Linked DNA regions of Homo sapiens: regions 2, 3, 4, 5, 6 and 7 are each linked to region 1. Evidence: promoter capture Hi-C in 16 types of primary human blood cells and fetal thymus (Javierre and others, 2016). All regions are on one chromosome and are shown on one strand. The core of a region is centred on a gene start or on the middle of the fragment in contact, and the rest is flanking DNA. Distances in the headings are between cores, read along the strand shown. Region 1 holds the start of CDKN2B (cyclin dependent kinase inhibitor 2B). Region 2 has its middle 220 kb from the start of DMRTA1. Region 3 has its middle 9.6 kb from the start of MTAP. Region 4 overlaps MTAP (methylthioadenosine phosphorylase). Region 5 has its middle 190 kb from the start of CDKN2B. Region 6 has its middle 150 kb from the start of CDKN2B. Region 7 overlaps MTAP (methylthioadenosine phosphorylase).

What was found. The method cuts DNA at HindIII sites, captures the fragments that hold promoters and counts their contacts. A CHiCAGO score of 5 or more calls a contact.
Region 2: a fragment that was not itself captured here is called in contact with the fragment with the promoter of CDKN2B in region 1 in 6 of 17 cell types (M2 macrophages, M0 macrophages, naive B cells and 3 more); the score reaches 13.7 in M2 macrophages.
Region 3: a contact is called between a fragment that was not itself captured here and the fragment with the promoter of CDKN2B in region 1, in 9 of 17 cell types (monocytes, fetal thymus, non-activated CD4 T cells and 6 more). The highest score is 6.7, in monocytes.
Region 4: a fragment that was not itself captured here is called in contact with the fragment with the promoter of CDKN2B in region 1 in 17 of 17 cell types (megakaryocytes, M2 macrophages, endothelial precursors and 14 more); the score reaches 51.0 in megakaryocytes.
Region 5: a contact is called between a fragment that was not itself captured here and the fragment with the promoter of CDKN2B in region 1, in 3 of 17 cell types (total B cells, naive B cells and M0 macrophages). The highest score is 11.4, in total B cells.
Region 6: a contact is called between a fragment that was not itself captured here and the fragment with the promoter of CDKN2B in region 1, in 4 of 17 cell types (M0 macrophages, M1 macrophages, M2 macrophages and 1 more). The highest score is 10.9, in M0 macrophages.
Region 7: a fragment that was not itself captured here is called in contact with the fragment with the promoter of CDKN2B in region 1 in 4 of 17 cell types (erythroblasts, megakaryocytes, total CD8 T cells and 1 more); the score reaches 6.1 in erythroblasts.

What each region holds. Positions count from the first base shown.
Region 1 is chr9:22,006,721-22,011,122 of GRCh38, forward strand. It overlaps CDKN2B (cyclin dependent kinase inhibitor 2B), which reads right to left and starts at 2,585. Exons shown (of 2, transcript NM_004936.4): 1 at 2,078-2,585. The coding sequence starts at 2,233. All of the region lies in intron 1 of CDKN2B-AS1 (CDKN2B and CDKN2A antisense cis and trans regulatory RNA 1), which reads left to right. RefSeq lists silencers at 1,927-2,126, 4,250-4,402. The HindIII fragment of the contact is 2,577 bases long and covers 1,875-4,402 here.
Region 2 is chr9:22,228,171-22,232,572 of GRCh38, forward strand. No RefSeq gene overlaps it. Among named protein-coding and RNA genes, the nearest start is that of DMRTA1, 220 kb to the right of the region's middle. The HindIII fragment of the contact is 4,433 bases long and covers 1-4,161 here.
Region 3 is chr9:21,790,816-21,795,217 of GRCh38, forward strand. No RefSeq gene overlaps it. Among named protein-coding and RNA genes, the nearest start is that of MTAP, 9.6 kb to the right of the region's middle. The HindIII fragment of the contact is 8,774 bases long and covers 1-4,402 here.
Region 4 is chr9:21,813,787-21,818,188 of GRCh38, forward strand. MTAP (methylthioadenosine phosphorylase) reads left to right here. Exons shown (of 8, transcript NM_002451.4): 2 at 1,647-1,733; 3 at 2,928-2,986; 4 at 4,249-4,402. Among named protein-coding and RNA genes, the nearest start is that of MTAP, 13 kb to the left of the region's middle. The HindIII fragment of the contact is 2,384 bases long and covers 616-2,999 here.
Region 5 is chr9:22,194,259-22,198,660 of GRCh38, forward strand. No RefSeq gene overlaps it. Among named protein-coding and RNA genes, the nearest start is that of CDKN2B, 190 kb to the left of the region's middle. RefSeq lists an enhancer at 3,098-3,157. The HindIII fragment of the contact is 1,552 bases long and covers 1,393-2,944 here.
Region 6 is chr9:22,157,604-22,162,005 of GRCh38, forward strand. No RefSeq gene overlaps it. Among named protein-coding and RNA genes, the nearest start is that of CDKN2B, 150 kb to the left of the region's middle. The HindIII fragment of the contact is 3,008 bases long and covers 747-3,754 here.
Region 7 is chr9:21,860,178-21,864,579 of GRCh38, forward strand. It overlaps MTAP (methylthioadenosine phosphorylase), which reads left to right. Exons shown (of 8, transcript NM_002451.4): 8 at 1,799-4,402. The coding sequence ends at 1,837. Among named protein-coding and RNA genes, the nearest start is that of MTAP, 60 kb to the left of the region's middle. The HindIII fragment of the contact is 2,154 bases long and covers 941-3,094 here.

The DNA.
Region 1 (4,402 bases), core at 1,335-3,834:
AGGGGAGAAAATAAACAACTAAGTTTTTTTCTTTCTTTTTTTTTTAATTTATTTAGTTCTCATAGCAAATCCCGTGCGGAAGGCTTTTGTTTGTCATGTGTCTGAGCTCATAACTGGCTTGTAGTGTGATAATTTGAGCCAAAGTTGGAGATTAGAAGGGAAAAGTAAATTAAATCATGCAAAATCTTATAAAATTATAATAAATGATTTTTCCTTAACAGTTCATCATTTTAAATTTAGACTATAATATTTTTAATGTAATATAAAACTAACTATATTTGTATACTACAGGATTTTATAATAGCTAAGATTTAAAAATGTTAAACAGTAAATATTTTGCTATATAAAAAGAGCTTGGGCCAGGCCCAGTGGCTTATGCCTGTAATCCCAGCACTTTGGGAGGCCATAGCAGGCAGATCACCTGAGGTCAGGAGTTCGAGACCAGCCTGGCCAACATGGTGAAATCCCGTCTCTACTACAAAAAATAAAAAATTAGCTGGGCATGGTGGGGCGTGCCTGTAGTCCCAGCAACTCAGGAGGCTGAGGCAGGAGAATCGCTTGCATCCTGGAAGAGGTTGCAGTGAGCTGAGATTGTGCCACTGCACTCCAGCCTGTCCGACAGAGTGAGGCCTCATCTCAAAAAAAATAAAATAAATAAATAAATAAATAGAGCTTGGATGTTAGCAGTCAATCAGGATGATGCATAACTTAGAAAAAATGATGTTTTGCAGGAGTAATCCTGTAGCAGCCATTTGTGTACATGAACATTATGAAAACATTTGCTGTCATATTTAAAGTCAATTATAAGACAATTTTTGGTAACTAAATGTCTAAAATCGAGTTATTTGTTATGGGTTTATGCACTTTAAAATATACCATTTAATTGAAAGGCAGTATACTTCTCATGTTTTGTTGGCTTGTTTCATTAATATTAGAAATGTTCATTTCATCTCTTAAAAACCGTGATAAGTTATATCTACTAGTGATGTAAGGATATTTTACATAGAAAAAAAGGGGAAAATAGCTGCTGTTAGTATTTCAGAAAATGGTGAATTACATATATAACTTGTTTTTATAATTATTAATAAAATTTTAAGTTTTTAAGATGCACTTTACAATATTTTTGCTCCTTTAAAAATCCCTCATTTGTTATACCATTATTCTAAGAATTCAAAAGAAATGAACACTTCTTTAAAATCTATACTATTAACAAGATCCCTTAATATTAGCTTAGTTTTAGAGGGTGATAGTGAGGTGAGTACTGAATATGACCACTAGCCAACGGTAAAGTACAAAAGAGTTGTCCGAGATTGTAAAAGAAATAAAAAATATCAGTACTAATTAAAGCAGGATTCGTACTTAAACATTGAATAAGTGTATTTTAACAATGAAGATAAAGATGCATTATTTATGAAGATCCTTTGCCATTCAAAAAGGACCTAACAGTTGCTGCAGGAATATTTTTGTAATCTGGGCACTGAGTATGATAATTAAAGAATGAGAAACCTATAGAACTATATATTTTTTCTCTTATGCATCACTCATAAGACACTGCTAACATAAAAGGAACTAAGTACTGTGGTTGAGGAATCCCGTCTCATTCTCAATTAACCTCTATGAGAAAACAATACAACAGATTTCATATAGTAGCTTAGAAGTTTACATTGATTTTTTCCATGTACTATGATTTTGTAGAATTCCTTAAATCCAATCTAGAATGCGTAACTTATACTTTACTTATCTTTATCGTTGAAAGCAGACAGACAAGATAATCTTCTTCCCTAAATAAGCTTTCCTTTTCTCCTTTTCTCCCCAATTCAGTCTATTCCTTGCATCTCTGATCATGAGATGGCAGAACAAAAACCACTAAAAAAAGCTTAAACAGTGGGTTTTTCAATGTCTCTCTTTAGGATTTTTGCTGGGTAAAAGCCTGTTTTACGCGTGGAATGCACACCTCCGGCCAACGGAGACTCCTGTACAAATCTACATCGGCGATCTAGGTTCCAGCCCCGATCCGCCGAGGCCGCGCCCCGCGTTCGCGCGCCCCCTGCCGGCGAGGCCCTGGGGCCCCAGCTACCTGGATCGCGCGCCTCCCGAAACGGTTGACTCCGTTGGGATCCGCGCCGGCTTCCAGGAGCTGTCGCACCTTCTCCACTAGTCCCCGCGCCGCGGCGCTGGCCAGACCCTCATCGCTGCCGCCCCCACTGGGCATGCCCTTGTTCTCCTCGCGCATTCCGCAGCCCCCAGACGCGCAGCGGCCCGGATAATCCACCGTTGGCCGTAAACTTAACGACACTCTTCCCTTCTTTCCCACGCTGCTCCGGCGCACTCTCTCCTTCCTAGGAGACCTGGGCTCAGCTTCATTACCCTCCCGTCGTCCTTCTGCGGCTTGGGGCCCCGTGCAGTGGCCGAGCGGCCGGTCGTTAGCTCCGGGCTTTTCCTGGCGCTCAAGAACCAGCGGGCGCGCCTGGATTGCTTCTGGGAAAAAGCGCCTAGCGCGGACGCAGCCGAGCTCAAAGCCGCTCTGGCCGCAGGGTGCGGACGCGTCGCGGAGTCCTCACTGCCCCGCCTCGCTCTGGCAGAGTGGGGAGCCAGCCGGCAAAGAATTCCGTTTTCAGCTGGGCCAAGGGGCCGGCGTCTCCCCACCCCCTTAGGCTCCGCCCCCTGTCCGCTGTGATCGCCGGGAGGCCAGGCCCGGGCCGACGCGTCACGAGGGCGGGGAAGCCTGCCCAAAGATGCTAGGACGCATGCGCCAGAGACTGGGCCAGGGAGCCGCCAGGAATGCTGGCTGCACTGCTCGCTGGATGTCCAGTAAAGCCAAGGCTAATATTTTGGGAATGTTCACCACTGCCCTCAGCTCCTAATCCCCAGTAGGCGGAGCAGAGGATTTCTGTTCCTTCAGCCAGCCAGTTGGTTTCACTGTGGAGACGTTGGTGGCTCCCTTGTGACCGAGAGAAAGTCATTCAAAATAACTCCGTGTTTCTTAAGATGTCTGAAAGCGACAGCTCTGCACCTGTCATACAAGTTAAATTCATCCCCAGGCAGTACTTGGGCTTCACAAGTTTCATAACTTGTATCAAACTTAGCAATTTTCTCTTGGATGTGTCTTTCTGTTTGAATTAGTCAACCATAAAAATAGAGAAAAATCCCGAGAATCATGTTTTGCGTGTGCTTTTTAATTCTTTCCATTTTTGCATTATGGATACAACCCTTAAAAGAGAAAAAAACTAGTTCGAGATTGAGAGTGGCAACCTGGCACACATAAGACAAAAAAAAATTATACTTTAAGAATCTGAGATCCCAGTTTCATCATATTTGTACAGTAAATCTTTGTTTGCACTCTTACCTATTTAAACCCACTTTGTCAGGTATCTTATTTTTATTTATCATGAGTAATAAAGGAAATTTATGCAGTAATAATGAAACATCATAAGAGAGGGGTGTGGTGCTGGGCTTGTCATTAAACAGGCTGAACCTGTCATTAAATTCTCTTCTGAAGATTTAAATGCCAAGTGCTTTTTTTCCCCTTCCTAATCTTCCTAGGTGAGTTTGAATCAACATTTATTACTTAAAATATTTAAAACATTTCAGCGGATGCTACATTGGATAGGAAGAGAACCGCAAGTTATGGATTTGTTGCCTAAAAACTTTGGTGAGGAACTGCATAAGTGGACCTCTCCTAAAAGTGAACAATTTTTGTTTACAGAATCATTTTGGTTCGGAGTGCTGAGGAAGACAAAGTCTTAACAGGAGGGCAATTGCTTGTGTATTGCAAAATGAGAGTCTTCACATGTTTTTTTTAGGATACCTTAGCTCTGACTCCTCATCCCCCAAATCCCTGTAGAATTAAAAAAAGCTCTTTCTTTTAAAGGCAGTGGAAGTGCCACCACCATGGAAGTGCTGGTTAGGGCTGAAAATCTACTGACAGAGCCTCAACAGAGCTGAAATCCACCTGGACAGGGAAGGGAACCGGGTAGCATTAATAACAATTTCTTTTTCTTTCCCATCCAACCCCCATTTCCTAGTCTTCAGTTTCTTAATTTCTCTACCTTTTACTCTTATGCTCTTGTTTTGACCTTTGAGTTTCTCTGAAACTTATCAGAAAAGTTAGGACAAGATAGTCTGACCCAATTCTTGAGCCATTTTCTTAGGTAGTAAATATGTCAGAAAAATGAAAGCTGTTTGGAGTTGATAAGGAAATGGAAGATAATGTTTTTCTTTGAGGGGGACATAAAGAATGGTGATAGGGAAAGAACCAATGACTAAGTAAAATGACTGAGAATCTTGCACGAGGCAGATGTGTGAGCTTCGCGAAGCAAGTTGACTGAATGAAAAACAACTTTGGGTAGGGAAAACGTTGCCGGGGGCATTCGCGCTTACTAGCACCACGGACAGCGCTTTG
Region 2 (4,402 bases), core at 695-3,194, 220 kb after region 1:
TATTTATATATTATTTATATTTATATATTATATTTATATATTATTTATATTTATATATTATATTAGGTTATAATATAAATATTATTTAATATCAGTTAGTTTATTTTAGGGTCTATAGGGTTCATAAACTTCAGGAAGCATTCTGTTGGTGGATGGAAAATCTCTCTTTACAAGTGTCTTTTTCTTCATGATTCTTAGGCTTTATAAAGGAGACCCAGTGATATTAAGACTCTTGCTTGGGAAGTAAACTGGCGCTTCTTAAATTATTTGTGGTGACGAATTTATTTTTATTATTTATCAATTCTCTTCTTCCATTTTGTTTAAATTTATACTTCAGCTTTTTCTTCTTTCTCTTGGCTCATAAAGTATTGACAATGATTGTTTATCTTTCTGTCCATCCCTGATACAAGCATTGAGAACTTTAAGTATGGCATTGGCAGCATCCCAGATTGAGATGTGGCACTTTCATGATTTTATTCTTTAGATAGTCTATTGCATCCTAAGTTATCTTCCTTAACAGTAGTATATTTAAAGAAGAATTCACTCTGCTGAACGTGATAAGAAACAGAACTCAGAAAGAGGGACACCTAGAGGATGAAAACAGAAGATACAATTTCAGTTGCTGATAATGTGATATTATGCCCAAATTATTCAAATAAAAAATTCTTAGAATTAGTTGAATTGAATGACTAAAAAAATAAACATTTGCAAATTGATTTCATTCGTCTATACCAACAATTAGAAGATAAAAAGGCGGGGAGGGACCAAGATGGCCTATTAGAAGCAGTTGTGGTCTGCAGCTCTCACAAAATGGCAAGAAAATTCTGCACCTTCAACTGAGGTATCCAGATTCTCACATGAGAGCCTTGGGTATGAAGCACAGAGTTGTGCAGAGTCTCAGCAGAGTGGCTGCTCCCTCACTTTGGCACGCAGGGAAACTCAGGGGTTTTGCATACTCTAGCCCTAGGAATTCCAGCAAAGAATCCTGTGCATTCCCCTAGGAATGGGGCTGAATCCAGTGAGCCCAGTGACATTGTTCTGCAGGCCCCATTCCCATGTCACCTCACAAGTTAAGAAGCACTGGCTTGGAATTCCAGCTGGCCAGCAGCAGTAGGCTGGAAAGGGCCTGAGACCACGGAGTTTTCTGGGGGAGGGGCAGCTGCCATATCTGTGGTTCCAGTCTGATGCTCTAGCCTGCTGGCACCGGGACCAGAAGAAATTGCCCACAATGCAGCACAGCTGTTGTTCCTGAACATGACCCATCTGCTTCTTCTGTGTTTTTGTTGTTGTTGTCGTTGTTGTTGTCGTCACCCAGGCTGGATTGCAGTGGCGGAAGCTCGGCTCACTGCAAGCTCCGCCCCCCAGGTTCACACCATTCTGCTGCCTCAGCCTCCCAAGTAGCTGGGGCTACAGGCGCCTGCCACCTCGCCTGGCTAATTCTTTTGTATTTTTTAGTAGAGACGAGGTTTCACCGTGTTAGCCAGGATGTCTCAATCTCCTGACCTCATGATCTGCCAGCCTCTGCCTCCCAAAGTGCTGGGATTACAGGCAACAGCCACCAGGCTTTTTTTTTTTTTTTTTTTTTTTGAGAACGGAGTCTCGCCCAGTCACCCAGGCTGGAGTTAATGGCCTGAACTCGGCTCACTGCAGCCTCAGCCTCCTGGGGTCAAACGAGTCTCCTGCCTCAACCTCCGGAGTAGCTGGGATTAAAGGTGCCCGCCACCATGCCCAGCTAGTTTTTTTTTTTTTGATGGAGTCTGGCTCTATCACCCAGGCTGGAGTGCAGTGGCACAGTTTTGGCTCACTGCAAACTCCGCCTCCTGGGTTCAAGCGATTCTTCTGCCTCAGCCTCCTGAGTAGCTGGGATTACAGGTGCGCGCCACCACACCTGGCTAATTTTTGTATTTTTAGTGGAGATGGGTTTTCACCATATTGGCCAGGCTGGCCTCAAACTCCTGACCTCAGGTGATCTGCCTGCCTTGGCCTCTGAAAGTGCTGGGATTACAGGCATGAGCCACCACACCTGGCCAATTTTTGTATTTTTAGTAGAGACAGGGTTTCACCATGTTGGCCAGGCTGGTCTTGAACTCCTGACCTTGTGATCCGCTCACCTCGGCCTCCCAAAGTGCTGGCATTACAGGTGTGAGCCACCGTGCATGGCCCCAGTCTGCTTCTTTAAGTGGGACCTGCATCCATCCCTCCCCACTGGGCAGGGCCTCCTTGCCAAATTTCAGCAACTCTAGCCAGGGTTATATGAACTGAACTCTGATTTCTCCCTGGGATGGAGTCCCTTGTGGGAGGGGCAGCCAGCTGTCTCTGTGGTTCAGCCAACTTATTTTTTCCAGGTTGCTGGCTCTGGAGAGGCCAGGTGGTCAGCGCAGCATACTTGATCTGCCAAGGGGCAAATGGACTGCTTCCTTAAGCAAGTTACTGATCCCATTTCTCCTCTCTGGGTGAGACCTCTCAACAGGGGTCTGCAGACACCTCCTACAGGAGCCTTCAGACAAACAGCGGACCTCTCAGTGGAAACCCTACAAGCCAGAAGAGATTCAACATTCTTAAAGAAATGAATTTCAAACCCAGAATTTCATATCTGGCCAAACTAAGTTTGATAATGTTGGGGTGATCAGACCCAACACCGGGTCATGGGGGCGACGAAGTCCGGTGGAGTCAAAGGATTGAGAAAAAGACAGTTTGAGAAGTAAAGTGGGACCAGGGGGCCATCGCGATTGTGGAGGCTGCAAAGGCCCTGAGCTCCGGGAGCCCATGCTATTTATTGGTAATCCAACAAAGAAACAAGTGGTGAGAATGTGGGGGTCAAAAGGGCAGGCACATGATCTACAGCTGTGATGGTTTAGCATTTATAAGGAACATGTTCTGCTACTTGAGATAATGGGAATACAATCAATCTAGGAGCCTAGGAGGCTAGAAGCAAGGAGCCAGCAAGTCTAGACACATTCCCGAGGACATTATGTCAGACATGCCCACCCTGCCTCAGTTTTTTTCCCAACACTCAGCTTTTTCCCAACAGATGAGCAAAGGAGAAATAAGATTATTTTCAGACAAGCAAATCCCTAGGGAATCCATCACCACCAGGCCTGCCTTGCAAGAGCTCCTGAAGGAAGCACAAAATATGGAAAGTAAAGACCATTACCAACCACTACAAAAACACACTGAAGTACAGACACCAGTGACACTATGAAGCAACCACATAAACAAGATTGCAAAATAACCAGCAAGCATCATGACAAGAGAATCAAATTCACATATAACAATATTAACTTTAAATGTAAATGGGCTAAATGCCCCAATTAAAGGACACAGAATGGCAAGCTGGATAAAGAGTCAAGACCCATCACTATGCTGTCTTCAAGAGACTCATCTCATGTGCAAAGACACACATAGACTCAAAATAAAGTGATGGAGGAAAATTTACCAAGCAAATGGAAATCAGAAAAAAGCAGGGGTCACAATCCTAGTTTCTGGGAAGACAGACTTTAAACCAACAAAGATGAAAAAAGACAAAGAAGGACATACATAATGGTAAAGGGTTCAATTCAACAAGAAGAGCTAATTATTCTAAAGATATATACACACAATACAGGAGCACCCAGATTCATAAAACAAGTTCATAGAGACACTCAAAGAGACTTAGAATCCCACACAATAATAGTAGAAGACTTTAACACCCCATTAACAATATTAGACAGATTATTGAGACAGAAAATTAACAAAGATATTCAGGACTTAAACTCAGCTCTGGATCACAAGGATCTGATAAATATCTACAGAATTTTCCGCCCAAAACCAACAGAATATACGTTCTTCTCATTACCACATGTTATTTACTCTAAAATTGATCACATAATCAGAAGTAAAACCCTCCTCAGCAAGTGCAAAAGAACTGAAACCATACCAGTCTCCCAGACCACAGCACAATCAAATAAGAACTCAAGATTAAGAAATTCAGTCAAAACCATACAATTTCATGGAAATTGAACGTCTGCTCTTGAATAACTTTTGGGTAAATAATTAAATTAAGCCAGAAATCAAGAGTTTCTTTGAAAGTAGTGAGAACAAAGGCACAACATACCAGAATCTCTGGGACACAGCTAACGTGTGTAAGAGCGAAATTTATAGCACTAAATGCCCACATCACAAAGCTTGAAAGATCTCAAGTTGACACCATATCATTACAACTAAAAGAGCTAGAGAACCAAGAGCAAACAAATGCCAAAGGTAGCAGAAGACAAGAATTAATGAAGATCAGAGTGGGACTGAAGGAGACAGAGACACAAAAACCCATCAAAAAATCAATGGATTCAGAAGGTGGTTTTGTGAAAAAAGTAATAAAATAGATAGACCACTAGCTAGACGAATAAAGAAGAAAAAAGTTTCAAAT
Region 3 (4,402 bases), core at 1,281-3,780, 220 kb before region 1:
TATTTCCCTTTGCACACCTCTGCTCCAGAGATATTTTCACAGTTGGATAAGATGCTTCTTAGATGATCACCAATACTCCATGCCTACTCATCAGTCCAGCCACTTGAAACAATCACCAGTACAACAGGACCGCCATATCTCCATGATATGAAATGAAGAGCTCATCCACGTGCCAGGAAGGTGGTGCACCCCAGCTGAATGGGAACAGAAGTTCCTGTGCTCAGGACCCTTCTAGACTTCACTTTATGTATCTTTTTATCTGGATATTTATTCATATCCTTTCAAATACCCTTCATAATAAATCAGTAAACGTGTTTCCCTGAGTTCTGTGAGCCACTCCAGCAAATTAATCGAACCCAAAGGTGGGGGGAGGAGGTTCACGGGAACCCCAATTTGAAGCCAGTCAGTCCGAAGTTCCAGAAGCCTGGACTTGCAACCGGGGGGAAGGAGGGGATGGGCTTGTGGGAGTAAGCTCCTAACCTGTGGGATCTGATGATTTATCTGGGTAGATAGTTGGAATTAAATTAGAGGACACCCAGCTGGGTCCTCCTGCAGAATTGACTGCTTGCTTGCTGGAGGGGGAAAATAAACACATATTTTTGGATCACAGAAGTCTCCTGTGTTGATTGTTATGGTGTGAGAGCACAGGAAAAATGGTTTGAGAGTTTTTCCTAAACAACATGATATACACGTACCAAAATATCACTGTATCCCACAATACATACAATTATTTTGTGCCAACTAAAAATAAAAGGAAAAACAAGAATTTAAAAATCCTAGCATGGTACTGGCATAAAAGCAGACATATAGAACAGTGGAACCCAACAGAAATTTCAGAAATAAACTCCTATTTGTGGTCAATGTAGTTTTGACAAAGATTTCAAGAACACACAGTGGGTATAATGACAGTCTCTTCAATAAGCAGCGTTGGAAAAACTGGATATCCACCCACAGAAGAATGAAATTAGACCCTCATCTCACTCCATATACAAAAATAAACTCAAAATAGATTTCAGATTTAAATGTAAAGCCCAAAACTGTAAAATTTCTAAAAGAAAACGTAGAGGAAATGCCCTGTGATACTGGTCTGAACAGTGGTTTCTTGGATACAACATAAAAAGCATAGGAAATAAAAGAAAAAATAGACAAATGAGACTGTATCAAACAGAAAAATCTTCTGGACAGCAAAGGAAATAATAGAGTAAAGGAACAACCCAAGAATTCGGATAAAATATTTGCAAATCTGTCTTCTGATAAGGGCCTAATATCCAAAATATATAAGGAACTAAAACAATTCAGTAGCAAGAAAACAACCTGATTTAAAAAATGGGCAAAGGACCAAAGTAGACATTTCTCAAAAGAAGATAAATGGCCAACAGATACATGAAAAACTATTCAACATCATCAATCATCAGGGAAATGCAAATTAAAATCACAATGAGATATCAAGTCATTTCTATTAGAACGGCTATTATCAAAAAGATGAAAGAGAACAAGTGTTGGAGGGGGATGCGGAGAAAAGGGAACCCTTGTGCACAGTGGTAGGAAGGTAAATTAGTATAATCACTTCAGAAAACAGTACAAAGTTTCCTTAAACAAACAAAAATACAATTACCATATGATCCAGCAATTCCACTTCTGGACATACATCCAAAGAAAATGAAATGAGTATGTCAAGGAGATATGTGCACTTTCATGTTTATTGAAGCATTGTTCACAATAGCCAAGACGTGAAATCAACCTAAGTGTCCATTATGAATGAATGGATAAAGATGATACACAATTGAATATTATTCAACCTTTAGGAAAAGAAGGAAATTCTGCCCTTTGTGACAATGAGGATGAACCGGGAGAAAATTATGCTAAGTAGAATAGGCCAGGCAGAGAAACACAAATACTGTACTGCATGATCTTACTTATATATGGAATCTAAAAAAGTCAAACTCATAGATGTAGAGAGTAGAACGGTGCCTACCAGAAGCTGGAGATTTGGAGGTAGTGATTATTTGAATGGGGAAAGGGAAGATGTTGATCAAAGGGCACAAAGTTTCAGTTAGACAGAAGGAATAAGTCTGTGATCTATTGCACAGCATGGTGACTATAATTAAGAATAATGTTTTATATATTTCAAAATTGCTAAAAGAGTATATTTTAAACGTTCTTACATAAAGAAATGCTAAGTATCTGAGATAGAAAATATGTCAGTTTGATTTAATTATTCTATAATGTGCATATATGTTCATATATAACATCTCCTGAATATATACAATTCAGGATATATATATATATACATATGTCTCCTGAATATATACAATTATTGTCAATTAACAATAAAATTAAGAAAGATATAGCAAGCAAAAAATACTCCTCTTCCACTTTCCCTCAGTACTTTACAAATACATTTCCCACTGCATTCTTATGAAGTGCTAGTTTAGTAATTAGTAAGCCTCTTTATACTTCACCCTCATTTTAAGTCACCGTTTCCATCTATTTTCCTTTACTGAAATCTGCCTATCCTTTCACTCTACAGCTTTCTCTTAAGGAGGTTGTTATTTTTCCATTCCCTACATACTAGGGGACTGTGATGAAGGGTAGCAATCTCCTGGTTTCTCATTGCCAACTCCAGGTTGGTTTGCTTCCATGGCCTCTAGAAAAACTAATGCTATTAGAAGGTGGTCTCTTCCATCTGGCTCTACCATCCTCTGATCATCCCTGTGGCTTTGATTTACCAGCCCCTCCAACAGCTGGACCTTGTATCATGGTCTTCGTCTTACCCCAAGTCCTATCTGCCACAGTTCTAGGAGATGTAATATGAATGTAGACAATACACACATGGAGATTTAAAAAAAAACAAACCACCTTCCCCCTTTCCCCCATCTGACTAATTCACTTGCTCACTTCTTGGATCTTTCCATAACCTTTAGAACTTATTACTCTTCTAAAACCTTGAGCTCCGATATCTCCCTCCAGGACCTCCTCTCCTTCCCTCTTTCACATTCCCTCACCCTACCCTCATGGCTCTTAGACTCCTTTAAGTCCTCCAGTCCCTTGATCCTCCACCCCCTTGATCCTCCACCTTCCCCCATCATCCAGGTCCTTCATGGCTTCATTGTTCCCCACAGGGCTGGATTTCTTTGATTGATAAGATAAACTTATACTTCCCCAACATCCTCAATTCCTTGAGGTCCTATCTGATCAGACAAGGGTGAAGGGCTGTCAGAAAAAATTACACGCCCTTGCAGATTGGTACCATTTCTAATTCATGGTCCCTAATCTGACATGGTCAAATCTTTGTCATCTTTTCTCAAACTCATTATGCAACCCTTATCTCTTACTTTGTTAAGAAAATTATACCATCAAGAGTCGTCTTTCTTAGGTTCACAGCACCTACTCTTAAACTATCTAGAGGCCCCATTCTTACCTCCTTTCTTCCAGCCCCATGTCTCCATTCTAATAGAGGACTATGATTTCTGTCAGAGCTTCTGATCCCATTCCTCTGGGATCTTGGGCCATTAGCCATACCTCTCTTAGTGTCTTCCATTTTTTCTTCTTTGTGAACTTCTTTTCACTTGCTTACAAACACGCTCAAAACTCTCTCCTTAGTAAAAGAAAAAAAAAATACCCCATTGACTACCTATCCTCTGCTGTTCATCTCCCAGTATCTCCTCCCTTTTCATCCAGACTTTATGAAGTACAGGTTTGTTGTTTCTTTTCCTCACCCACAGGCTGTTCACACTCTCTCCAATTTGCCAGAGTTTCGCTCTTGAGGCAATAGTCCATGTGAATTTTGTATTGGGTATTTGAAAAAAAAAATTCCGGAGTAAAATAAGGGTGAGAGCTCTGTGTGTGAAGAAGTATTTAAAAGCTATTTGGGTTTTAAATTGTATTAAAAGTCAGAAAATTTAAAAACAAGTCTTCCTTAAGCATTTCTGTTCAACTTACAAATCTTTTTATACTGTTTACAAGTTGAGTATAATGAGAAATATCACCTTTACTTTTTTATTGATTACTGTATTAGCTATTTTTGGATTAACATTTCTAAATTGAACAGAATAATTTTCCTCAATACTTTAATTATATTCGATTAAATATTTTAAACAGTTTTTCAAAAATTTGACTTTAATTTTTAAGCATTTCAAATGTCTGACAGGACAAATTTACAATACCTATAAACAAAATGTTTCCGAGAACTCAGATAATGCTTGAAATAAAATTATTTATACTCAGGAAATATAACAAATCAAAGTACCTTATATAATCTGATAATATACGGAAACTTAGTCAAATTATTTTTGCCTTTTAGCTTAAAATCAAACTTAAAATCAATTGCATATTCAATTGGAATTATGAGGATAACCTCTGAAATTCTATGTATTTTATATACTGTATAAAGTTTTAAATA
Region 4 (4,402 bases), core at 558-3,057, 190 kb before region 1:
TTTCTTAGCCTCCTCATGACCTGTGGTGCTTCAGAGGTCCACGGAATGAAGGATAAGATGGAGAAGCCAGGCTAAGGAAGGATTGGGATTTCCTAAAACAGTATGAATTTTTGTTATTTTCTATTGAAGTGCCGTAATTTAAATGTATTGACTTAAGTGAACACTTCTGTTGATTTGAAAGCTATAATACTGGTTACTCTTTGTTCGTTGACATAAAAGTATGTTAACCTGCTGTGGTTTTAATAATATACCTCCACAAGATGGCGCCAACATCAAAGCCTGGCTTTGCCACTTAAGGAAATTGTGGTGGACAGTCACAAATTATGTAACCATGTCATGGGAAACAGGCAGAGTTCTTCAGTAAAAACCTCACTAAATTGTCCTTATTTTCTTGTTTGTTTTTTGTTGTTGTTGCTTTTTTTGTGTGTGTGTTTTGTTTTTTTCAGGAAACTGAGCCAGAAAGGTAACCATTTTTTTACGTGTTGATAGGACTCAACTTGTGTAACCTGACCTGAAAATTATTTAATGCAGATGTTCACTGAATTCTTAATCCTGGAATTTTTTTCTTGAGGCCTACTTTATTTTATTTAGTTACCCTTGTGACAATAGATTTAAAGCTTTTCATTGAAAAACAACAATGCTCAGGTCACTTCGCATTAATTAGGTTTCTAATAAAGTTAGCCTGGCACTGTTTACTCTCTAGGAGGTACCAGCCCAAGGAAATTTCCCTAATGATTTGTTACTTATTTTTAGTTTTAACAGTTTAGTTAATTTTTATTTATTTTTGTAATTGTTCTTGTTTGTCTTTCTTAATCATCAAATTAGATCAACTCTCAGAGGATAGTGCTAGGTTTCTTTAACTCAGACAAGGACTTTCAAGATAATCTCTGAAAAATGCAATACAATGCATGAACTTAAAAAAAACTTATAACTACCTTTTGAATTATTTATATTTGCATAAATGTATTTACTGAGTAATATACATGAGTATGCTATATGTATATTTACAACATGTAAATATGAATTTGCATACATATATGAATGATTGTTTTCATAAATGTATATGCGGGTAACTTTTCATGCAATTTCAGTCTCCTCTGTCTGCATTCTCTCCTAGCTCTGTGATTCTAATGGCGTGGGAAAGATAATCTCTCATTTCTTTATCAAATAGAACAGTGAGGAGAAATCAATACCAAATGGAATACCTAATATTTTATATCCCAGCAGTCTTCTGAACATTGTTTATTCTATAGTCCATTTGACAGAGAAACAAAATTGATCAGAAGGTACTTTCCACTACCATACTTGCCTACTTTTAGGTTTGATTTTCTACCTTGAGTTGGTTAAAATACCTCTCTATGCTGACTTGTAATTCAGACAGTCAGAAGTAAATGTGATGTAGTCCAAAAAGGTGCCCTACGTTTTGGTTACTTATAGAATATAGAAGGCCTTCAAATGTTTGTTGATTTTTATGGAAGGCTTTGAAATATTTGTTGATTGATGTTCAGTAATTTTCAGATTTCAAAAAAATAACTAGGGCTTGGCAGGAATGGAGAAGAGCATATGAATAAATGAATTTGCTTAGAATCTTATTTCTAATAAAAATTACCAAATACAATAATCTTCTCTGTCTTTTTCTCTCTTAGATTGGAATAATTGGTGGAACAGGCCTGGATGATCCAGAAATTTTAGAAGGAAGAACTGAAAAATATGTGGATACTCCATTTGGCAAGGTTAATATCCAACTTGTGGAGACATGTTTTTTAGTTTTTTCATTTCTCCTTGCTGGCTTGATTTTTGAATTAAAAAAAAAAAAAAGAATTGCTTTTGTTTTGGCAGCCCAGGGCTGTCTGCTCCCAGCAGAGAGGGCCAGAAGTTCTGCTGTTGGGTTCCATCAGCTGAGAAGGTGTCTGATGGGCGCCTCACACTTTGATGTTTTGAGAAAATGGCTACTTAGTATGTAAATCACTTCTCATTCTGTTGCTGGAAATCAGATACTCATTTCAGACCACAGACTCATTTCAGACTGTACTTTTCAAATCTACATTCAAATCTTCTAATTTGTGGCCAATAGGTCACACCACACTAATTAGGGGACAGGCTGATGACTAATAGGATGAATTATTGTTACGAAGCGGCATTTGAGTGGAAAGAATTGTTTTGGGGAATTAGAACATACCTGATGTTAGTTGAATGTGTAACTGAGCTAGAAATAAAATGCTCCTCCTTTTATAGGAGAGGTTGCTTGTTCTCCAAGCCCATGTCACTCAGCCTAGGCCGGGGTGAGGGTGTCTGCATTCTCCTAATTCCATATTGCTACGTCCTCTGGTCCATCTGTAAGATCTCTCTATCTGGCTGTCCCAACCAAACCCTCCTTTTCAGCTAAATTCTTAGGTTGACCTTGTGTGCTCCCAGTCCTGCAGTCATCCTGGTTCATTTTCTTAAACCCCTCGGTTCTAAGGGTCTTTCCAGCCTTTGTTACCTCAAGTCATTTCCATGATCATCTTAGACCTGGTTAACACAAGCAGACATTTCCAGTGCTGAATTCTTAGTGTCATGATGGTGGCTTGTTATCCTTTCTGCCTTTCACCTTCACACCTGTTCTCAAACCTGCCCAATAACCTTGACACATCTAAATTTGACCAGTCTACCATCAGAGTTCCCTGGGGTACTCGTTACAAATAGATCTGACTAAATGGTACCTACACAGGTGCCCATGGTAACCTTGAGTCCTGTGAATCTATGCCTGCAGAGGGATCAATAAGTAATTGATTAAATGATTATATTGATAATCAGATCTTGCCTCTTCTCTAAGTTGTATCCTCAGACTCTTCAGATTCCATGAGTCCTGTTGTGGTTGAACAATTATAATTTACATACCTGTTTTTAAATCACTGAGTTAAATGTCATTTTTTCATTGCATGCAGCCATCTGATGCCTTAATTTTGGGGAAGATAAAAAATGTTGATTGCGTCCTCCTTGCAAGGTATGGTATTTTAAGCTTTTTGGATGTTACTACTAAAGGATAATTTAAATTTAACTTAAATTCTGGAAAGAGTAAAGATACAGGTCTGAGCTTTTATATGTTGGCAGAATCAGAACATCTTAGTAACCTTTATTTACAATGTTTTATTTTTGGTTAAGTTATATTGACTTAGGAGATCAAAGATCTCATGCTCTTGCCCCTTACATTGGGAAAGTAGATCAGATGACTAAAATCAAAGCTCTGGTTTTAGTTCTAACTGCAAGAAGAAATGTTTTGTTCATTTTTTTCCCCCTTCTTATAAAGATAAAGAAAAACAATGCATCATTAATGACCTCTTGCTGGTAGTAGTTATATGTCTGTGGGAAGTAGGCTTAGGGCTTCTGAAGTGGGTTACTTGTGTCTGTGCTGTTGTTTCCTTAAGGAGGCTGGTGCTGCTCCATATTACAGAGGAGGCCAAGTCATTTTTATCCCATTGTTAGAAGTTAGTCAAGATATATGTATGAGTTCTCTACTGTTGTGTAACAAATTACCACAAATTTAGCAGCTTAAAATAGCACACATCATCTCCTAGTTCCTGTTGGTCAGAAGTCTGGCACAGCTTAGCCAGTCCTCTGCTTGGGGTTGCACAAGGCCCCACAAGGCATATTCAAGGACTGAGTCCCCATCTGGAGCTTGAGGTCCTTGTTCAAGCTCGTGTAGTTGTAGGAGAATTCACTCCCTAGAAGTTACAGGGCGGAGGCCTTTGGCTCCTAGAGGTGGTTCACATTCCCTGCCGTGTGGCCTGCTCCACAGGCTGTTCACTTGACTGCAGCTTGCTTCTTGCTATTAGGATATGGCAAAGGTGCTAGAAGTCACCTCCATGGTTAAGCTGTACCTTGCAAGCATGCAGGAGTCCGGCAGGAGAATCTCCTATGCATGCTTGCAAGGTAGAGCCTAATCGTGGGAGTGACTTATAGCACGTTTACCATTTTTCTATTGGCTGAATGCAAGTCCCAGGTTCACTGATCCTTTATACAGAGCATGACAGTGGGGTCCTCACTAGGGTCTGTCTGCCACTCTACATATTTGAAACAGGAGTGGCTTCTCAGAATCCAGTGAACCTAAATTTTAGTTTTAGTTGCTCACTGGACTGGGTTCTAGGAGACCCCCTGTGTTAGTCTGTGGTCATTGCTAGAGAATCACTTAATTTTTTCTAGACTCTAGGAGAAAACAGTTGGTGGTGTACTCATCACGGGTTAACAATTTCTTCTCTCCTTCCATAGGCATGGAAGGCAGCACACCATCATGCCTTCAAAGGTCAACTACCAGGCGAACATCTGGGCTTTGAAGGAAGAGGGCTGTACACATGTCATAGTGACCACAGCTTGTGGCTCCTTGAGGGAGGAGATTCAGCCCGGCGATATTGTCATTATTGAT
Region 5 (4,402 bases), core at 919-3,418, 190 kb after region 1:
ATTAGATCCCATATGTTAACTTTTGCTTTTGTTGCAATTGCTTTTAGCATCTTCGTATGAAATCTTTCCCCATTCCTATATCCTGTTTGGTATTGCCTAGGTTTTATTCTAGGGTTTTGATTATTTTTGGGTTTTGCATTTTAAGTCTGTAATCCAACTTGAGTTGATTTTTGTGTATGATATAAGGAAGGGGTCTAGTTTTAATTTTCTGTATATGGCTAGCCAGTTATCCCAGCACCATTATTGAATAGGAAATCCTTTCCCAATTGCTTGTTTTCGCTAGGTTTATTGAAGATTAGATAGTTGTAGGCTTGCAGTCTTATTTCTGGGTTCTCTATTATGTTCCTTGGTCTCTGCATCTGTTCTAGTACCAGTATCATGCTGCTGTTTTGGTTACTGTAGCCCTGTAGCATAGTTGAAGCCATGTAGCATGATGTCTCCAGTTTTGTTTTTTTTGCTTAGGACTGCCTTAGCTATTTGGGCTCTTTTTTGGTTCCATATGAGTTTTAAAATAGTTTTTTTTCTAATTCTGTGAAGAATGTCAATAGCATTTTGATGGTAATAGCATTGCATCTATAAATCGCTTTGGGCAGTATGGCCATTTTCACAATATTGATTCTCTTCACGAGCAAGGAATGTTTTTCCATTTGTTTGTGTCATCTTTGATTTCTTTGAGCAGTGTTTTTTACTTCTTCTTGTAGAAATCATTCACTTCTGTGGTTAGCTATACTCCTAGATATTTAATTTTTTGTTGTTGCAATTGTGAATGAGATTGCGTTCCTGATCTGGCCCTCAGCATGACTGTTGTTGGTGTATAGGAATGTTTGTGATTTTTGCATTACTAACATTTTTCTATCTCAGAAGACAAATTGATTTTTGTATCCTGAGACTTTGTTGAAGTTTATCAACTTAAGGAGCTTTTGGGTTGAGGTTATGGTGTTTTCTAGATATAGGATTATATTATCTGCAAACAGGGACAGTTTGAATTCCTCTGTTCCTATTTCAATGCCTTTATCTTTTTACTTTCCCTGATTGCCCTGACCAGGACTTCCAATGCTATATTAAATAGAAGTGGTGAGAGAGGGCATCCTTTTCTTGTGCTGGTTTTCATGAGGGATACTTCCAGCTTTTGCCCACTTAGTGTGATGTTGGTCATGGTTTGTCATAGATGGCTCTTATCATTTTGAGGTATGTTCCTTCAATACCTAGTTTATTGAGAGTTTTAACATGAAGAGGTATTGAATTTTATTGAAAGTCTTTTCTGCATCTATTGAGAGAATCATGTGGTTTTTGTCTTTAGTTCTGTTTATGTAATGAGACAAATTTATTGATTTGCATATGTTGAATGAAGCTTGCACACCAGAGAAAAAGTCTACTTGGTTGTAGTGGATAAGCTTTTTGATGTGCTGCTGAATTAGGTTTGCTAGTATATTGCTGGGGATTTTCACATCAATAGTCATCATAGACATTGGCTTGACATTTTCTTTTTTCATTGTGTCTCTGCTACATTTTGGCATCAGGAAGATGCTGGCCTCATTGAACGAGTTAGGGAGGAGACCTTCCTCATTAATTCTTTGGAATAGTTTCAGTAGGAATGGTACCAGCTCTTCTTTGTACAACAGGTAGAATTCAGCTGTGTATCTGGCTTTTCCCGAGCTTTTGTTGGTTGGTAGGCTATTTATTACTACTCAATTTCAGAGATCATTATTTGTCTGTTCAGGAATTTAATTTCTCCTTGGTTGAGTCTTTGGAGGGTGTATATGTCAAGATATTTATGCATTTCTTCTAGATTTTCTAGTTTACATGCATATACATGTTGATAATATTCTCTGATGATTATTTGTATTTCTGTGGGGTCAATGGTAATATCTCCCTTGTTATTTCTGATTGTGTTTATTTGAACCTTCTCTCTTTTCTTCCATATTAGTCTAGCTAGTGGTCTATTTTATTATTATTTTTTAAAGTTTTGTTGATGTTTTGAATAGTTTTTCTTGTTTCAGTCTCCTTCAGTTTATCCCTAATTTTGTTTTTTTTTCTTATCTTCAGCTAGATTTGAGATTCTTTTAGTTGTGATATTAGGTTGTTAACTTAAGGTCTTTCTAACTTTTTGATGTAGGGATGTAGCACTATAATTTCCCACTTACACTCTCTTAGCTATGTCCCAGTTATTCTGGTATGTTTTATCTTTGTTCTCATTACTTACAAAGAACTTCTTCATTTCTGCCTTAATTTCATTATGTACCCAACAGGCATTCAGGAGCATATTATTTAATTTCCATGTAATTGTATTGTTTTGAGTGAATTTCTTAGTCTTGATTTTTAATTTGATTATGCTATGGTCTGAGAGACTTTGTAAATGATTTTAGTAGTTTGCATTTGCTCAGGAGTGTTTTATGTGCAATTATGTGATTGATTTTAGAGTCTGTACCATGTGACAATAAGAAAAACTTATAATCTATTGTTTTTGGGTGGAGAGTACTCCAGATGTGTATCAGGTCTATTTGATCTAGTGCTGAGTTCATGTCCTGAATATTTTTGTTAATTTTTTTGTCTGGATAATCTATCTAATAATGTCAGTACAGTGTTAAAGTCTCTTACTATTATTATGTGGGAGTATATGTCTCTTTGTCAATGGGGTTCTCTGCATTTCCTGAATTTGAATGTTGGCCTCTCTAGCAAGGTTGGAGAAATTATGTATAATGTCCTGAAATATTCTTTCCATGATTCGTTCCTGATATAGTTTGGTTGTGTCCCCACCCAAATCTCACCTTGAATTGTAATAATTCCCATGTGTCAAGGGTGGGGCCAGGTGGAGGAAATTGCATTAGGGGGGCAGTTTCCCTCCTATTGTTCTCATGGTAGTAAATAAGTCTCATAAGATCTGATGGTTTTATAAAAGGGAATTCCCCTGTACACCCTCTGTTGCCTGCCACCATTTAAGACAAGCTTTCGCTTCTCCTTTGCCTTCTGCCATGACTGTGAGGCCTCCCCAGCCATGTGGAACTGTGAGTCTATTTAGCCTCTTTTTCTCTATAAATTCCTCTGTCTGAAGTATGTCTTATACAGCATGAGAACTGACTAATACAGTAAATCGGTACTGGTAGAGTGGGGTGCTGCTGTAAAGATACCCAAAAATGTGGAAATGACTTTGGAACTGAGAAACAGGCAGAGGTTGGGTCAGTTTGGAGGGCTCAGAAGAGGACAGGAAGAAGTTTGAAGGGAAAGTTTGGATCTTCCTAGAGACTTGATGAATGGCTTTGACCAAAATGCTGACATTGATACATGGACAATAAAGTTCAGGTTGAGGTGGTCTCACATGGAGATGAAGACCTTGTTGGAAACTGGAATAAAAGTGACTCTTGCTATGTTTTAGCAAAGAGACTGGCATTTTGCCCCTGCCTTAGAGATTTGTGGAACTTTGAACTTGAGAGAAATGATTTAGGGTATCTGGTAGAAGAATTTTCTAAGCAGCAAAGCATTCAAGAGGTGACTTCGGTGCTGTTAAATGCATTGAGTTTTATGTATTCGCAGATTTATGCTTTGGAACTGAAACATGTTTAAAAGGGAAGCAGAGCACGAAAATTCAGAAAATGTACAGCCTGATGATGCAATAGAAAAGAAAAACCCGGTTGCTGAGGATAAATTCAAGCTGGCTTCAGAAGTTTGCATAAGTAATGAGAAGCCAAATGTTAATCACCAAGACAATAGGGAAAATGTCTCTAGGGCCTGCCAGAGGTCTTCCAGAAGCCCCTCCCATCACAGGCCTGGAGGCCTAGGAGAAAAAAGTGGTCTTGTGGGCTGGGCCCAGGACCTTGCTACATTGTGCATTCTCATGACTTGGTGCCCTGTGCCCTAGCCATGGCTAGAACTCAGGCCATTGATTCAGAAAGGGTGCATGACCCAAGCCTTGGTGGCCTTCATTTGGTATTGGGCTGTGGGCGCACAGAAGTCAAGAACTGAGATTTGGGAACCTCCACGTAGATTTCAGAGGATGTATGGACCTGGAACACACAGGTTCCAGAGGCAGTATGGAAACGTCTGGATGAACAGGCAGAAGTTTGCTGCAGGGGTTGGGCCCTCATGGAGAACCTCTGCTAGGACAGTGTGGAAGGGAAATGTGGAGCTGGCACCCCTACACAGATTCCCCACTGGGACACTGCCTAGTGGAGTTGTGAGAAAAGGGCCACCGTCCTCCAGACCCCAGAACGGTAGATCCACCAACACCTTACACCACGTACCTGGAAAAGCCACAGACACTCAATGCCAGCCTGTGAAAGCAGCTGAGAGGTGGGCTGTACCCTGCAAAGCCACAGGGGTGGAACTGCCCAAGAGGGCATGGGAGCTCACCTCTTGCATCAGCAGGACCTAGATATGAGACGTGGAGTAAAAGGAGATCATTTCA
Region 6 (4,402 bases), core at 1,001-3,500, 150 kb after region 1:
GAGTAATAAAAGTAGGGTGAACAAGTCATATTTATTTTGATTTATATATGTCATATATGTAAATTATGTCTGCTATAATTCCTTTTTTTCTTTCAATTGAATGTTTTCATTTTTAAGGCCTAGAGATTAGAGTTCAAGTAAAGATATTATAGGAAAGCAAGGAAGAACTCTTTTATCTTACTGTAGAACAAATTTTTAGAGGAATAAAAGGAGAAAAGGATATATTGGACATATTTGATTTTGATTTCACTCCCTATTCTAAATAAAAAAAAATACACTGCCCTTTCTGTTAGCTTTAGTATTTTAAGGGTAAATTTCAAAAAGTTAATTTAGTGTAAGTGTTTCTCACGGTGTTTTTGGCAGAACCGGTATCCCAAACTGGAAGAGGTTCTCTGTATTTAATTTCCTCTCAGGAAGTTTACCGTCAGAAGTCCAAATGTGAGGTCAAGTTTTGGGTTGCCGGAAATGGTAATGTCCTTTACTGTCTGAACACCCAGACAACACTTAATGAAACATTCTACTTTGTGGACATTGAAAGAAATTAAAATGCTTTGTTTCCTCCTTTTTATGATTGGTGATTTCTGTATTCAGTCTTCTAAAACTCAGAAACAAGACTATGTGTAAGTAAGAGCATCTGCATTCTCAGGATCAAGTTATAACTGCAGATTTTCAGTTACAGGTGATATCCATCTTTTTTTTCCTTCCTAAAAATAAAAATGTACTTACTTCAGGCCAAAGGAGAGGCAAGCTTTAGAACTCATTAGCCTTCAAGAAAAACAATTCCAGAGCATTCTAAACCTGATTTCTTTCTAACTCTGTTTGAGTTGACCTGAGGACTTTTACAGGTTAAAGCAGTGAGTCATTATATCTCACATTCATACAGCTCTACATATTTGTCAAAGTGCTTACTCATCTAATATCTAATATGATCTTAATAAGAACCTTGTGAATGTCATTATCTTATAGATGAAAAAATGATATCTTCATAAGATACAGTTTGCTCAAGATCACAAAACTAGAAAATGTAGTTTGAACACTTCTGATTTCAAAGCCAGAGTCTTCTCCACTGCCCCATGCTGTACTGTTTTTGAGAATTTGTGATTTCCTGGTGTTGTATTATTTTTACCATTGATGAGATTTTTGCCTGTGATTTATCCTGAATCAAAATAGATACTGTGATATGATACTAAAGTAATTGTTACCAAACAAAAAGTTGTGCTAGCATTCTTATGAAGTACAGCACTAAAGATTTTCAAAACATTTTGTTATTTTTACATAATTGGTCATGTAAATTTCTGGTAGGACACTCCTTATGAGATTACAACCCATTCTAATTTATGCTAGCTATTTATTGTTAAGCAGTATGTTGTTTTTATTACAAAACCTCCTTTAATCATTGCATCAGTCTCTGGCAGAATATTAAAAACAACTCCCATAATCCCTGGCACTCTGTCCTGGGTGTCTTTGGGGGTACAGTGGCTTTATTTCCTTCCCTAATAGTTCGGAAGTTTGTTTAATACTGACTCAGAGGAAGCATTCTAGCTGAGTCCTCACATGGTCTTGTTTACAGCTCCGGAGTGTACATAATAGATAAGCTACTGACTTCCACAAGACCCCCACGCTTCCTGGGTGTGTGGGTGTGTGTGCTTGTGCTTGTGAATTAAGGTTGTGCAATCTCCCTGCTAGCTGCATCAGGTTGCAAAGTCATTTACTTCTCTAAAATATTCCTCTAGCCAGCCTGACTTGATAAACCAAAATCATTGTATTCCATGGTGGACATGCTGGTAACTCATGATAAACACTAAAAATCCTACGGGTTTATAACAAGATAAAACCTGATATTGGGGCAGGGTGTAGAGAAATTTGCCCAAGGAAATATTGTGAAATAAAGTTGCAAATGGCTATAGATGAATGCTTTTCTATCTATAGGATTTCTTTTCTTGATTGTAATTATAAATTCTTTTACTGGTTGTAAATATAATTATGATTCTTATGTTACCCAGTCTGTACCAAGAACTTTGTTAGGCCAACAACATCTTACTTGATTGTAGTAGTAACCTTAAAAGATAAATATAGGTATAATGCTTTTTCAGAAGAAAAACTGGAGAATTCAAACATGTTCTGCATTGCACAGATGGTAAATGAGTGATGAATAGGGTCCTTTGACTCCAAAGATCAACTAGGTTCTTTCCACATATCTCTCTTTGGTTCCCTTTTTTGATATGACTGTATGAAATATAATTGTATTTACATAAAGTGCAGTAGAGTTCATTAGAAAAACTATTTCTGAATCTTAGGGTTCAGACTAAAGGTGTTTGGAGGCTGATGATAGTGGGCTGCAAAGAGCTTCATGGTGGGCTGCGAATAGCTTCATCAAACCCTTGAATGTGTCAGGAAAGGCAGATTCAAGGCAGAAATGTCACATGGACCCCAGATAATTCTTGCCTGGAGGAAAAGAACATATACATAATTATGTGTGTAATCCATCTTGGACATAGTACTAAGGTGATTAAATTAATCATGATTGAGTGTTGAGTGTTAAAATCCAAATGCAAATATCCTTCAACCAACTTTTTGCACCAAAACTAAGTAGACTTTATCATCTCAAAATAGTGCTTACTAAATATAGTCACTCTTTGTAACTCTTAGTTTTAAAAACCATAATAATTGTTTCCCTCTGTTTTCTCTCCTGAGCTGCTACTGCTGCTGTTGCTGCTAAAATATAAGGTATACCATGTATCACTTTTGCAGAAGACAGCTTTGTTTTTGTAAAGTGCCTGGAATGGAGTTTGTGGGTATATTGATTGCAGGCACTGAAAGACCTAGATGAATATGTAAGAATGACCACAAGCCACCAGATGTGGGTGTATTTATCCGTTTGCCTCATTACTAAAAGGTTTTAGTTCCAAAAAATATCCAGAAGAATTTAGTTTTGGGGAACTAGAGAGGCAGGGGGAGTGGAATTAAATTTTTTGAATTTTTAAACAAGTAATTTGAGCTTCCAATTGATATATTGTAATTTCTTTGCATTGGAATACTGATTTCTTAAGGAGTAGTTGCAGAAAGATTTTCTTTAGAAATTAGAAATTGACAGCCAGGTGTGGTGGCTCATGCCTGTAATCCCAGCACTTCGGGAGGCCAAGACCAGTGGATCACAAGGTCAGGAGATCGAGACCATCCTGGCTAACACGGTGGAACCCTGTCTCTTCTAAAAATACAAAAAATTAGCCGGGCATGGTGGTGGGCGCCTGTAGTCCCAGCTACTTGGGAGGCTGAGGCAGGAGAATGGCGGGAACAGGGAGGCGGAGCTTGCAGTGAGCTGAGACTGCGCCACTGCACTCCAGCCTGGGCAACAGAGCGAGACTCTGTCTCAAAAAAAAAAAAAAAAAAAAAAGGAAATTAGAAATTGACTTTGAAATTCATTTATTATGTAAACAGGAAGATATTTTATTGCAAAGACAATTGGAAATTGGAAAGTGTAATTAGTTATTAAAACAGCAATTAAGACATTTTGTGGGCTTAGATATATGTGTGTGTTTGCCTTGGTGGCATGTGCTCTGCTCCATTTGCACATTAAATTATGCCCATATAGTTATATCTGGTATTCTGCTCCTTAAATAAGTCATTTAGTTTCATTGATAGAGGGTAAATGAAGTTCTTTTTCATTCTTTTCAGAGATAGCATAGGGTAGTGGTAAGGATATTTCGTTTTGGAGTCAGTCTGCTTGGATTAAAATCCAAGGTCACCTCCATTAAGCTTTGTAACCTTGGGCAAGTTAGTAAATCTGTGTCTCAGTTTCTTTATCTGAAAAATGGAGATAATACTGTTACTTATTTCACTGGGTTCTTATGATGATTAAGATGAAAAATTATGTAAAGATCTGGCATATAATAAGAGATCAAAATAGAAATTTTAAAACATTTAAATTATATATATAGTAGTATTTGCCTTTTTTGGTTTACAGTTCTGAGTTTTAATACATGCAAAGCTTATTGTAACCAACAAAACATCAACACAATAGGATACAGAAAAATTTCCACACTCCCCAAAATTCTTTTTGCCTCTTTATCTTCAGACATATCACCTCCCTTCCATTCCACCAAATCCTCGCTACAACTGATGTATTTTCTGTTCCTATAGTTTTGCTTCTTGAGACTGCCATAGAAATGGAATCATACCATATGTAATCTTTTGAGACCTAGTATAATGTCTTTGAAGTACAACCTGATTTTCTTAGGCTCTTATCTGAAGAGCTGATTTCACCACGGAAAAGGAATTAGAGGAGGTGTTTATTTTTATTTTTAATTTTTGATCAAGGGGAAGAAAAATAAAACTCAGATTAATATCATCCAAAAGGAGAGTTTGGATTTGTATGAGAATTATTTTTCAGCATTTCAAACTA
Region 7 (4,402 bases), core at 768-3,267, 150 kb before region 1:
TGAGAGAGCCACAGTTTTAGTATAATGAGGACATTGTATGGTGGTAAGTGACTGCCAATCACTGGGCATGGCAGAGCCTTGATTTGTAATGTTTGCTAATTTACGTGGTACAAGTGCTCCAGTACGGCCAGTTTCACACTACTAATGTGAAGCCACTGATGAGTTGAGAAGTGATACACACAGCTCTTGCAAGCTGGTACGAACAGAATCCAGCACACCACTGTAACTAAGGTGTCTCTCAGCAGTTAGGACTGACGGTCAAGAATGTTGGAATTTGTAGCTTATCTTCCCTACTAAGAAACAAATCTATTGGTTTCAACACTGTATACCTAGGACCTAAATGTTATTTAATGAATAAATGATACTCCTTTCCCCCATGAAGTGTTTTATCATAATATATAGAGATGCAGGAAACCCTTATTATTAGAATTAAAAGGGAAAAAATACATTTGAGTGCAGTCAAATGGCACAACTGGAGCTTGCATAAAAAAACGCATGTTGGTTTGCCAGAAATGTGACTCCTACTTGTACTATTGTTAGCAAAATGTCATAGAAGTTTGTTTGTTTATTTGTTTGTTTGTTTGAGACGGAGTCTCATTCTGTCACCCAGGCTGGAGTGCAGTGGCACGATCTCAGCTCACTGCAACCTCTGCCTCCCTGGTTCAAGCGATTCTCCTGCCTCAGTCTCCTGAGTAGCTGGGATTACAGGCATGGACCACCATGCCCAGCTAGTTTTTATATTTTTAGTAGAGACTAAACCTAGTAGATGACCAACATGGTTTCATCATGTCGGTCAGGCTGGTCTTGAACTCCTGACCTCGTGATCCACCCGCTTTGGCCTCCCAAAGTGCTGGGATTACAGGCATGAGCCACTGCGCCCAGCCAAGTTTATTTTTTTTAAGTCTCCCAACTAACCCCACTTTGACCATAGTCTTTCAAAAGCTTGAAGTTAATTTCTCAAATAATATATTTACTGTTTTAGCTTTATTTTTAAGTAAAAATGCTTGAAGAGTAGAAATCAGTGTTCTCCTTTCCTGGAGCTTCTGAAATTGTAAAATTGTGTGATTTTATTTGTATGCATTTTTAAAGAGGCTTAGTTTACGTAGCTTTCATCGGATTTTCAAAGGAGGATTTTATATATATGTGTATATATATACACACATACATACATATACACACACACACATATAAAACCTAAAGAGAGAAAATGAGGAATTCCTGCTCTAGACAAAACTGAGAATCTTGGTCTTCATGCTACAGCATTAAGGAACACCATACTAATAATCCCTTTTTCTGGGGTAGTATTGTTAGCACTGAAATGTGTATCATTCATTCCCTCACTAAGTCATTTCAGAAACACTTAGCACCTGCTATACGTCAAGGTCTGGTTTGCAAAGATAAAGAGTTGTGATGATGATCCTATGGTGTTTGGAGATATAGACACATAAAAATTTCAATGATTTCTTACAGTGGGGTAAGGATAAGGGATAGAGGTTGCATAAACAATAATCCAGGCTGGGGGCTGGTATGGCAATAAGTGATTATCAGAACAATGCTCTGAGATAAGCATTATTAACCTCACTTTACAGGAAAGGGAGGTGAGGAACCAAGAGTTTAGAGTACCCGAAGTTCCACATCTGGTTAGTGAACTTGAAAATTTTCTGTAGAATTTATTTAAAGTGTATGTTTCCTGCGTCCTCACTTTGATCTAGAAAATCAAAATCTGTTTTTTTTTTTAACAAACATCTCAGTAATTACGCCAACATGTGAATATCACTGCCTCCTTTCTTCCTTTCAGAATATGGCCCAGTTTTCTGTTTTATTACCAAGACATTAAAGTAGCATGGCTGCCCAGGAGAAAAGAAGACATTCTAATTCCAGTCATTTTGGGAATTCCTGCTTAACTTGAAAAAAATATGGGAAAGACATGCAGCTTTCATGCCCTTGCCTATCAAAGAGTATGTTGTAAGAAAGACAAGACATTGTGTGTATTAGAGACTCCTGAATGATTTAGACAACTTCAAAATACAGAAGAAAAGCAAATGACTAGTAAACATGTGGGAAAAAATATTACATTTTAAGGGGGAAAAAAAAACCCACCATTCTCTTCTCCCCCTATTAAATTTGCAACAATAAAGGGTGGAGGGTAATCTCTACTTTCCTATACTGCCAAAGAATGTGAGGAAGAAATGGGACTCTTTGGTTATTTATTGATGCGACTGTAAATTGGTACAGTATTTCTGGAGGGCAATTTGGTAAAATGCATCAAAAGACTTAAAAATACGGACGTACTTTGTGCTGGGAACTCTACATCTAGCAATTTCTCTTTAAAACCATATCAGAGATGCATACAAAGAATTATATATAAAGAAGGGTGTTTAATAATGATAGTTATAATAATAAATAATTGAAACAATCTGAATCCCTTGCAATTGGAGGTAAATTATGTCTTAGTTATAATTAGATTGTGAATCAGCCAACTGAAAATCCTTTTTGCATATTTCAATGTCCTAAAAAGACACGGTTGCTCTATATATGAAGTGAAAAAAGGATATGGTAGCATTTTATAGTACTAGTTTTGCTTTAAAATGCTATGTAAATATACAAAAAAACTAGAAAGAAATATATATAACCTTGTTATTGTATTTGGGGGAGGGATACTGGGATAATTTTTATTTTCTTTGAATCTTTCTGTGTCTTCACATTTTTCTACAGTGAATTTAATCAAATAGTAAAGTTGTTGTAAAAATAAAAGTGGATTTAGAAAGATCCAGTTCTTGAAAACACTGTTTCTGGTAATGAAGCAGAATTTAAGTTGGTAATATTAAGGTGAATGTCATTTAAGGGAGTTACATCTTTATTCTGCTAAAGAAGAGGATCATTGATTTCTGTACAGTCAGAACAGTACTTGGGTTTGCAACAGCTTTCTGAGAAAAGCTAGGTGTTTAATAGTTTAACTGAAAGTTTAACTATTTAAAAGACTAAATGCACATTTTATGGTATCTGATATTTTAAAAAGTAATGTTTGATTCTCCTTTTTATGAGTTAAATTATTTTATACGAGTTGGTAATTTTTGCTTTTTAATAAAGTGGAAGCTTGCTTTTTTAACTCTTTTTTTATTGTTATTTTATAGAAATGCTTTTTGTTGGCCGGGCACAGTTGCTCATCCATGTAATCCCAGCACTGTGGGAGGCCGAGACGGGTGGATCACAAGGTCAGGAGATCGAGACCATCCTGGCTAATGCGTTGAAACTCCGTCTCTACTAAAAATACAAAAAATTAGCTGGGCGTGGTGGTGGGCACCTGTAGTCCCAGCTACTCAGGAGGCTGAGGCAGGAGAATGGTGTGAACCTGGGAGGTGGAGCTTGCAGTGAGCAGAGCTTGCAGTGAGACGAGCTTGTGCCACTGCACTCCAGCCTGGGCAACAGAGTAAGACTCAGTCTCAAAAAAAAAAAAAAGAGTGAAATGCTTTTTGTTTGCTTCAGTTTTTTATCATGGGGAGATCTTTTTCCTCAGAATTGTTTTCTTTTCACTGTAGGCTATTACAGGATACTTCAGGATCAAGATACAGAACCTTTTATTTAAAGAGTTTGTAAAGTCAATGTGTTTGTTTGTGTCTCTGAGATTGACTTCAAGATAATAAGCTGCTAATTGTAAACAAAACAGTTACCCTCCAGTATTAATATGACTCATTAGTGTGAGCCATTTGGGTCAAGTATGATTATGACCCTTGGACTTCCTGATGTAGTATTAAATTTCAACTCTGGTTATCCATTAGCAATCTGTAGAGAACTTAATGAACCTGAACCCAGGCTTCTCTAGCTCTGGTAACGTGTGATTGTTTTCACTACAATATGATACATAGATGGTACCTTACTTTTCCTCATTCTTAATAGGTGTCTAAGAATGTCAGGGCAAAAGTATGGGCATTTTTCTTGCTATGTTCAGAAAGTACAGTTCTCTCCAACTTGCAGAGGTACTTTTCTTGATTAAATAGCCTTCTCTAGCAACATCATTTTCAGACTAACTAAATGAATGCAGTATACTCTTTTCTTTGTTCTCAATCATTCACTCCTTATGCAAAGCCAATATAATTTTCCTCATACCTTATGCTTGAGGATATTGTTGAAGAACACTTCCTGGAACACTTCTCACTTGTGATGCTGTACTAATTTTTTTTTTTTAATTTAAGCTAGTATACTAAGTGAACACCATGGTCAGTTGTGAGCATTTTGGTTTCCGCAAAGGATGGATGGTGAGCATCATGGGAAAGCTGTAGTTTAGTGACTTAGCCCTTAGTGATTAATAGATTTGCATGTACATAGAAGTCTTTGTTGGCCTTATAATCTGCTGTTATATTTGGCATGGATTTTCATGGTTTTGAGAATGACATCCTGGCCC